3 separate regions of the Homo sapiens genome follow, and regions 1 and 2 are each linked to region 3. Evidence: promoter capture Hi-C in human tissues and cell types (Jung and others, 2019). All regions are on one chromosome and are shown on one strand. The core of a region is centred on a gene start or on the middle of the fragment in contact, and the rest is flanking DNA. Distances in the headings are between cores, read along the strand shown. Region 1 overlaps CYB561D1 (cytochrome b561 family member D1). Region 2 overlaps LINC01768 (long intergenic non-protein coding RNA 1768). Region 3 holds the start of GSTM1 (glutathione S-transferase mu 1).

What was found. Contacts are between HindIII fragments. The study calls those that stand out against the background at their distance.
Region 1: a fragment that was not itself captured here is called in contact with the fragment with the promoter of GSTM1 in region 3 in 2 of the 25 tissues and cell types used here (heart left ventricle and lymphoblastoid cells).
Region 2: a fragment that was not itself captured here is called in contact with the fragment with the promoter of GSTM1 in region 3 in 2 of the 25 tissues and cell types used here (pancreas and thymus).

Annotation. Positions count from the first base shown.
Region 1 is chr1:109,499,740-109,502,699 of GRCh38, reverse strand. CYB561D1 (cytochrome b561 family member D1) reads right to left here. Exons shown (of 3, transcript NM_182580.3): 3 at 2,265-2,960. Among named protein-coding and RNA genes, the nearest start is that of CYB561D1, 7.1 kb to the right of the region's middle. RefSeq lists an enhancer at 2,712-2,960. The HindIII fragment of the contact is 8,294 bases long and covers 1-2,960 here.
Region 2 is chr1:109,889,982-109,892,681 of GRCh38, reverse strand. The region is part of intron 4 of LINC01768 (long intergenic non-protein coding RNA 1768); the gene reads right to left. Among named protein-coding and RNA genes, the nearest start is that of CSF1, 20 kb to the left of the region's middle. RefSeq lists an enhancer at 2,141-2,435. The HindIII fragment of the contact is 4,600 bases long and covers 1-2,700 here.
Region 3 is chr1:109,686,566-109,689,492 of GRCh38, reverse strand. It overlaps GSTM1 (glutathione S-transferase mu 1), which reads right to left and starts at 1,676. Exons shown (of 8, transcript NM_000561.4): 1 at 1,584-1,676; 2 at 1,248-1,323; 3 at 756-820; 4 at 364-445; 5 at 168-268. The coding sequence starts at 1,619. RefSeq lists an enhancer at 1,577-1,626. The HindIII fragment of the contact is 14,943 bases long and covers 1-2,927 here.

The sequences.
Region 1 (2,960 bases), core at 91-2,590, 190 kb after region 3:
CCCATACTCTGCATTTATATAGTTTTTCATCTGCAAAGCAGTTTTTCTATGGCTGACAATTTGGCTGACAGGATGAAGCTGATAAGGAGAGCAAGTCTGATGAGGACTACTTGGAGTTTGGAGTTCTCTCTTCTGTTTTGGCCTGTGCCAAGCCCAAGGAAGTCCATGGCTGCATCTCTTCAACACCCCCCACCCACCCACCACCCACATCCTCACCACCTCCCCCAAACCACAAGAAGTTCCTTAGATTCTGGCCAAGATGTGCAATTTTGTCTGCCATGCCTTGCAGCACTTACCCTGGCTCCTCTTAGGTAGCACTTGCGGGGAGGGAGGAGGCTAATATGACAGTTTTCTTTGAGAATAGGTAAGAGTTCAGTGCATTGGTTAACCTGGCCTCTCTTCCCCCCAGTCTCTCAACTCCTTCCCTTTCTGCATGCACTTCTTGCACCACTTATCTTGTATCTCCCAGGAAACCAGTGGGGAAGCTTCACTTTCTCCACCCACATAGCAGAAAAGGCTCAGGCCCCTGCAGTGGGACGGTTGGCTTTTCTGGTCTAGTCACAGTCAGCCTGTGCTGAATGCTTCCTCTCCTGGGGCTTGAGAGAGGAAGGCTAAAGCAGCTGCCAGTCAAGCCCCTTCATCAGGCTTCTACACTCTTAGGTGGAAAATGCAAAATGGTGAAGACACTTAGACCTGCCCTGACGCCTCCAATCTAGTCAGCTTGTTTACTCTCCCTGGTTGGAACCATGGCCTGAGAGAACCAACCTGCAGTGAGCCAGGACGTGGAGCCCTGCAGTGGGACTTCTGGATGCCCTTTGGCACTGGCATACATTAGGCAGGAGTCATTGCCTCCAAGGCTGGTGTATGCGTGCATGTGCGCACACATACAGGTTGGCAAGTACTGGAGTTGGATTGTACTTTGTGCTGCATTTCCCTTACCTCCCACTGCTCCCTCACTTGGTCATAGTTTGCTTTTGGGGGGCCTGAGCAGAACTGAGCATCCTTAGAAAGCACCATGAGATAACTGGGTATCTGCTTTAAAGATAGGGGTGCTAGGGGGCCACTCATGTATACTCAGTGAGACAGAGTTGGCTCCTCAGATGCCACTGAATAGCCTGAAGTCGTTCCTTAATCTGCTTCCAACAGAGGTTAAAAACTCATCTGGGAAATCCTAGCAATAGCAGGATTATAAACTGAGATTGTTATTCTGTGATGCATCTGGTGACTAGCTGAGTCTCCTGAGTGGGTGGGTAGGGGGAAGGTCCCCTCACTGGAGGTAATTTCTGCCTACATGAAGGGGTTAAGCCCAGCGCCATGCTGGAGACGGGCTACTTCAAACCACCCTCCAGGGCAGTTCTGCCTTTCAGCTTGTCGTCTTTGTGCAGTGCTGGTGAGAACTGCTGAGGCTCTGCACACAATGCCTGACTAGTGTTTCATTCCTGGATCCCAGGACAGAAAAAGCAATTAAGATAAAAAACGAATATTCAAGCCTCTGCACTGCTGTTTTGCTGTTCCTGCTTCTTTGCATCCACTCCAGGCAGACTGCTGCTGCTCTCAGACAAATGGAATGGAAAGTATTCTTCCCCAATTTAAAACTTAAACAGAACTGCTTTCAGTGTGTGTGTGTGCGTGTGTGTGTGTGTGTATGTGAATGCCAATAAAGCACTTGGAGGAGGAGGGGACTGATCCTATTCCACGAGCCTGAAATGGGGAAAGGGAAACCAGGCTGTGGACCCTGGGAAGCCAGGGGTCCCTGCTCTGCATCTCCAATGCCTGAGGCAGGTGTTGCTCATTCTGTGGCTTCGGTAAACAGAGGGTCTGTGGCGATGCTGTTTGCTCCAGTTGCTCCTCCCTTCCTAGCTTGTCTGCTCCACTTTTCCCTCAGAAGGGCAGAATTAGGAGAGATTTAGATAGACTTGTGACCTGCAGCTCCCTACGAAGACCAGCTCCAGGAACTTCAGGCTGGACCTAGGGAGGAATTGTACTGACTCCGAGATCTGCAGTCTGCCCTGTGATTTGGGAACACCAGGTAGGCAGCACTTACGGCAAACTTCACTAGTCATGGCCGTGGTGGCATTTCTGGCAGGAGTTGGTAAGAGCTGACCTTGCATCTGGAAGGAAGAAATGTGTCCATGTTTTCTTATGATGGCCAGAACAACTCTCTGAGACTTAGATCCCCTGTCATTATCCATAACTGTTTATTGCCTAAGAAGCATAAAGCCCAAAGCCTGGCTCAGTGAAAGAGAAGGACAAGAACATAATAATACCACCTGTTTACATGTGTTTAATGCTTTGAATTTTCCAATTCCTATTAACATTCATTCTCTCATCAAACCCTCACAACATCCCTGTGAGGTAGGTCAGGCAATAAGTGGTTTGCCCACAGCCACACCAGTGATAGGGACGGAGTAAACCCATACTGCAGGTTTCCCAGCCCCCAAGCTGATGCACCTTTCATTTCATGTTACACAGGATCTTTGTGCCAACCAGACACAGGAGCATCAAGAGCACTACCAGAAGCCTCCCTGCTCTCTGAGCTTGCAGAGGGGACCCAGAAATGCTGGGCTTGAGGCATCAAGACCAGGGGTGCCCCCTGTAGGCCAAGCCAGGTAAACAGAAGGAAGGGCAGGAGTACTGGAAGTTCAGGCTCAACAGCCACCCCTGCCACCACCATAGGTCTCAGCCTAGCATACACTGTGTTCCCTACATATCTTGACCTTTGTCAGGTGCAAGTCTTATTAGTTTACTGAGAGGACTCAGTGCCCACTCCCAGACGAGAAGTCACTGCAAGGCGTGGCTAGCAGCAAGATTCCTGACTTCCTTCCCACAGTGCCTTCCCATTCTGTTACACTCTGCAGCCCAGGAAGGAGGGGGAAGGTGAGGGCTGACTGACTCAGCCTGCAAGTGCTTAGAGATCTGAAGCTGAAAGGCCCCAGCACCATTCAGCTAATGATTATTAT
Region 2 (2,700 bases), core at 22-2,521, 200 kb before region 3:
AGCCCCAGGGGGAGTTTCCTCAGCCCTGGAATTCAGGACACTTTCCTGCTTTTATGATACTGTCTTCACCCTCTGCATACCAACCCCTCCCCAATACAAATTGGTGGCAAGTAGGTGGAGGAAGGAGGGTCCACTGGAGAACCCCCCCTTACCACCCAGCCCAGGAGCAAACAATTTCTCCCCAGGGCTCAGAAGCTGCCTGTGAGCTTCTTGTTTGGGGCTCACACTGAGTTCCCCCTGTCCTTTATTTGAGATGAGTGACTCGTGACACCACAACTGCTGAATCTACAGCCTCCAAAACCATGCTGGGGTCCAATCTCTAGCCCGGGCAGGAGGCATTCTGCTGGTGCATCTCAGTGTGCCCCCACGCTGTCCCGGTAAGTCACTCCAGCCTGGTCCCTGGAGTTCTTGGCCCTGTCTCTGCTTGCTGGAAGTGCCCCTTCCCTGTCCGTTTCCTGGCAGCGTGTAGGAAAGAATGATGGACAACAGGCCAAAGCTGGGAGGTCTTGTTCGGTCAGCCAGCCTCAGGGAGCCCAGCTGGGATGAGCATCAGCTTGCTGGCATCTGGGGTCTAGACAGCAGTCACATGAGTTGTGTGCACTTGTCTAGTCTGAGACACATCCCAGGCCAACTGTTTGCTCATGTGTCCCCAGAGCACCTGCTACTTCCGGGAAGCTCTCTTGTAACTCATTTCAGAAAACACCCAATCTGCCAAGGCTTCGCTACAAGGCACTGGAAGAGAGAAGAATAAAAGAATGGAGAAGACAGAGCTCCTGCCTTCCAGGAGTCTAGAGGCCCATCCTAACAATCATCACTGTGGTTTAAGATGTGCCAGCCTCTGGAATGAGGTGTGGGGACTCAGCGATAAGTAAAACATTTCTCTGAACTTCAGAAATTTAGATTGTAGCTGGGGAGAGAGACATATAAACTGGTAATTCTACTACATGGTGGAATTACCTGAAAAGCCAGGCAGCTCCTCCCTCCAGCCTCAGCTGAGATGTCATCTTCCCACAGGAAGTCTTCCCTGACCCTCGTCTGGGTAGACGTCCTTCAAGCATCACAGCATATACCACTAAGCTGTGCCATTGCCTGGCAGCCTAGCAGAAACTCCCATTCCCCCATCACCAAAACATGAACACTCTGAAGGCAGGGACTGGCCTTCTGTCTTTGTGTCCTCAGCGTCTCACACAACTAAACATATTTATAGATAAGTGTTACATGAACGATTTCTAAACAGTTGACTGCAATACAAGGCTGACAATATATGCTAAATAGAGATTTGACAACATGCTGGCTTTGTTGTAGAGAAAGGGCTGATTAATTTTGAACTATGAGGATAAAAAAGGCACCAAAGAGAAGGTGTGATTGCGGCTAAGCCCTATGGGATGCACAGGCTCTTGCCAGCCAGAGAAACAGGAGGAGAGCATGAGTCAGGAAAGTACATGCTTTGTTACAGCTAACATACAAAAGCCCACAGGGACTGGCGCATAGGACATGGAGGGAGGAGATGTAGGTGGTCAGGCGAGGAGGAGTCTTGGTATCGTGCTAAGCAAGGAGTGTCGTCTTTGTTCTGTAGACACAGAGACCCTCTGAGAAGTTTCCATGACAGGAGTCATCTAAACTGACCCGCATTTTGCAGAGGCTCTGCTGACGGCTGTGGGAAGGGTGTATTTTGGAGAGTTTATTTCTAGGAGTGTCCTCTCTTTGTCCTCTCTCCCCTGGAAGGGGGAGCTGGGGAAAGTTGGAGGGAAAGGGTGGAGCAGATAAATCAGTTAAGAAGCAATGTAATGTTAGGAGACTGGTGGCAATAACATGAATCAGAACAGGTACAGTGGGAATAAATAGAAAGAGGCAGAGTTGGTGACATGAGAGTGAGACTGAATTATCTACACAGAGTGGCTGGGAGGACATGAGAGAGGAGCAGGCTCCAGGAGTGGGGGAAGGGGAGGAGGCGTTCCATTCTGGGCTGCCATCAGCATGGGAGTAGAGGACGAATCTTAGATTTTCTCAATCCTGATTCATCTTGATAACAAGCTATGTGAGGACTTTGAGGAACCCATTTTGTTCAAAGCTTACACAAGTGACAAAATCTCTTCCTATTATGGAAACATCTCACAGAGCCCTCCCAGTTTTAACTACCACCATCCCACATACACCCACCACCATAGCAACCCACATGGTTGAGACACAGTGGGGTGTTGCCAGGAGAGGTAAGGTGTGGTGTGTACAGGGAGCCCCTGTCATCATCGGGATGACTTTATGTCCGTGAGAGTGGCAGCCCACACCCTAGCCTCTGAGCTGCTGGCTTTCCCCATCTCTGACAACCTTCTGTCCCACTGTGACTTGGCCACCCACTCCCATCACCACTCCCTAGACTTAGTCACCACCCAGAACTCCCTCACCTCTGAAATCACTAATCTTGATGGCCTTCTCTATACTCTCAGCTTCTCCACTCAATCACTTTGTCTACTCTTGACCTCTGACCCCATCAGGTACCCCGTCCATGGATCCCTCTGTTTTCTTTCAATCCAGCAGCCCCCTTTTTCCTGCATTCTCTTTTCTCACACCTGAGATGCACAGCTCAGAATTTTATTCATTCTCTCCTATAACATAAATTCCCCCTTGTTGCACCGCCTGCCAAAATTCCACCGGTGGATGAAGCAGCTGTCCTTTTCCTCTGAACTGCACTGGCATGACAGG
Region 3 (2,927 bases), core at 427-2,926:
TGCTTTTGTTGACATGACATTGGAGTCGTGAGAATAACTGCTGATAGTATGGGAAAGCACTTGGAGGATGAATGGTACCAGGGACTTAAGACCAGTGTGTGCAGGAATGCAAGAGTCCTGGCCCCAAATCCAAACTCTGTCAGATGCAGCTCACTGGGGACACTCACAAATTCTGGATTGTAGCAGATCATGCCCAGCTGCATATGGTTGTCCATGGTCTGGTTCTCCAAAATGTCCACACGAATCTTCTCCTCTTCTGTCTCCCCACCTGCCACCCACAAAACACAGACTCAATCTCAGCATCACAGCCCAGCCAAGGAGGAGGCCACCTTCCCCCCACACATTGCAGCCACCCACACTCACACAGGTTGTGCTTGCGGGCAATGTAGCACAAGATGGCGTTGCTCTGGGTGATCTTGTGAGCCCCATCAATCAAGTAGGGCAGCTGGATGGATGGGAAACCGGCGAAGCTCAGTTGGGCCACCAGGCTCCCCAGCATCCCCTTCCCATAAGCAAGAGCAGAGAGGAGACCGGGCACTCACTGTGCCTGCTCATGGCAGGACTGAAATAAGAATACTGTCACATGAACGAATGCAGGTGGACACAGAACATCATGGAAGGACTGTTTAGACAGCCAGGAGTGAGAGGAATTGGGCAGAAGACTCCTGATCTTAACACCTCTAAGCTGGGGAGAGGAGATGCAGTCAGAGACACGTTGCACTTTCCCCCAAAACCGCCCCTTCCCCTGCACCTACATTGGGAAAGTCCAGGCCCAGCTTGAATTTTTCATTCAGCCACTGGCTTCTGTCATAATCAGGAGCTGTGGTGGGGAAGAAGAAGTGAAAACAAACCTCCCCAGAGCCCAGCCCTCCTTCCCGGGGACCCTCCCACGGAGCCAGTGGCAAGATCCCTGAGACAGGTGGATCTAGAATCTGACCACTCAGTCCCACATCCCAGGGTTCAGGGACAAAGAATCCCGCTGAGGGCTCTGGACCCCACACAGCTAAGGCTTCCAGGGTTTAGGCAAGCCCTGAGGGACACCCGTCCCAATTAGACAGGGGGCCCAGCATCCCACCCCAGCATTCTGCCTTGCAAGGCCAGAGGGCTCCCTCACCGGGGCTCAGGGAAGAGACAGCCTGCAGCTCCAGCAGGGGAGGCCTGCAGAGGCAGCCACAGGTGGCCACCATGGGTTGCTTGGTGCCAACTTAGCGTGAGTGGGCAGAGCCCGAACACGAGGGTGCCATTACCGTCCCCCATCGTGTACTTCTTTTCCTCATAGCTTGAGTCTGTGTATTCCAGGAGCAGGCGGATGGCGTGGGCCAGCTGGGAGAGATGGCCCGCAGGTCGCGTCAGAGATGGAGGGTCCCTGACTTTGTCTGCACCAGGGAAGCCCCCAGTTTACACTGCACGTACCCGTTGCCTCCTCTACCCGCCCACACCCCCAACACACACACAGCGGCATGCACAGGCCCTTCTGAGGCGGGCAGCCCTGAAGAGGAACGGTCCCTAGAGTCCGTCCCGCAGCTGCTTCGCACTTCCCTCCCCTGCGCCCTCGTCCCACCGTCCAGCGGACCCTCGCTCACCCCGCGGATGTCCCAGTACCCCAGTATCATGGGCATGGTGCTGGTTGGTGCGGATTCCGCAGACAGGCCTAAACCGAGCAGGGCTCAGAGTATAAGAGCTCCGGAGAGGGGACAGGCGGGGCCTTGCTGCGACCCCGCCCCTCGGCCCGCCACAACCCGAAAGGCGCCATTCTGGAGGCCCGGGAGAGGGCGCCTGGGGCTGCACTCAGTAAGACTTCCTCCCGCCTCCCAGGCCCGAGGGTTCCGGGAGCGAAGTCAGGGCGCCCAGAAGCCCAAGGCGGGGCTCGGCCTCGCCAGCTTCCCTACCCAGCCCTGAGGCTCCACGAGTCCATCCAGCCCTTGCTAGGTCCACAGCGACTTGGCTGTGCGCTTGAGACACCAGCCAGATCCTAACGGAGCAAAGCTCTTCTCCCTTCTCCTCCCTGCCCGCGGTGTCCCTCAGCCTTCTCTCCGCTGCCGAGTTCCCAAGGGCTCTGGGAGACTCCGGCTGCAGGGGTCAGACTAAAAAGTGGTGGCCCCAACCTGGGAATTTAATTCAGCCCCTGTCACTGTAAGAGCAGGACTTCCTCTGATCCGAAAGCTACTCCCAGGGCTTAGTCTCCCCTCTAGCCCCGCCTACACAGGAACAGTGTCAGTGGTATAGGAAGGACCCCCAGGAAAAGGGCCAGAGTAAAGGAAATGTGGTCTGTGTTTTCTGTTAGGGGCCCTCGGGTACTGAGTCCTTCGGTCATCTGGCTAAGTACTGTGTAAATTAGCCACTTCGTATTTTGGCACAATTTATGAATCGAAATCCAAGGATCAGATCCAGCAAGTTGGTGAGGTATCTGAGGTGCCCCCTAGAAATGTCCAGCCAGTCCACTAGGTGAACCTCACAGAGACCGGAACAGCAACAGCAACAGTGAGTGCAGTGGCCACAGAGAGCAGGCGAGGGAGGATGGAAGAACTTCCCGGACCAAACTGAGGGTCCGGCTGCTATTTCTCTAGGCCCAATAACGAGATGCAGATCAAATGGGGAGGAAGAGAGGTTTTATTTCTGCAACCGGTAACAGGGAGAAGGCCTAGAAATTACCACCAGACCAACTCAATATTACAAAGTTTTCCAGAGCATATATACCTTCTAAGGTATATGTCTACAAGTAAGTGTGCATTCATCTAAAGACATAAGTGATTAACTTCTTTAATCTGTAACTGAGGTCTGGGTCCTGAGGACCTTATTCTGGAGCCTCAGTCTATTTATTTAATCTAAATGGGTCCAGGTGCGGGGGATGATTACCCTTATCTTGTCTCCTGCTAAATCACGGAGGTTTGGGGAGTTCCTTCAGACGCCCAATAAACTTGTTTGTG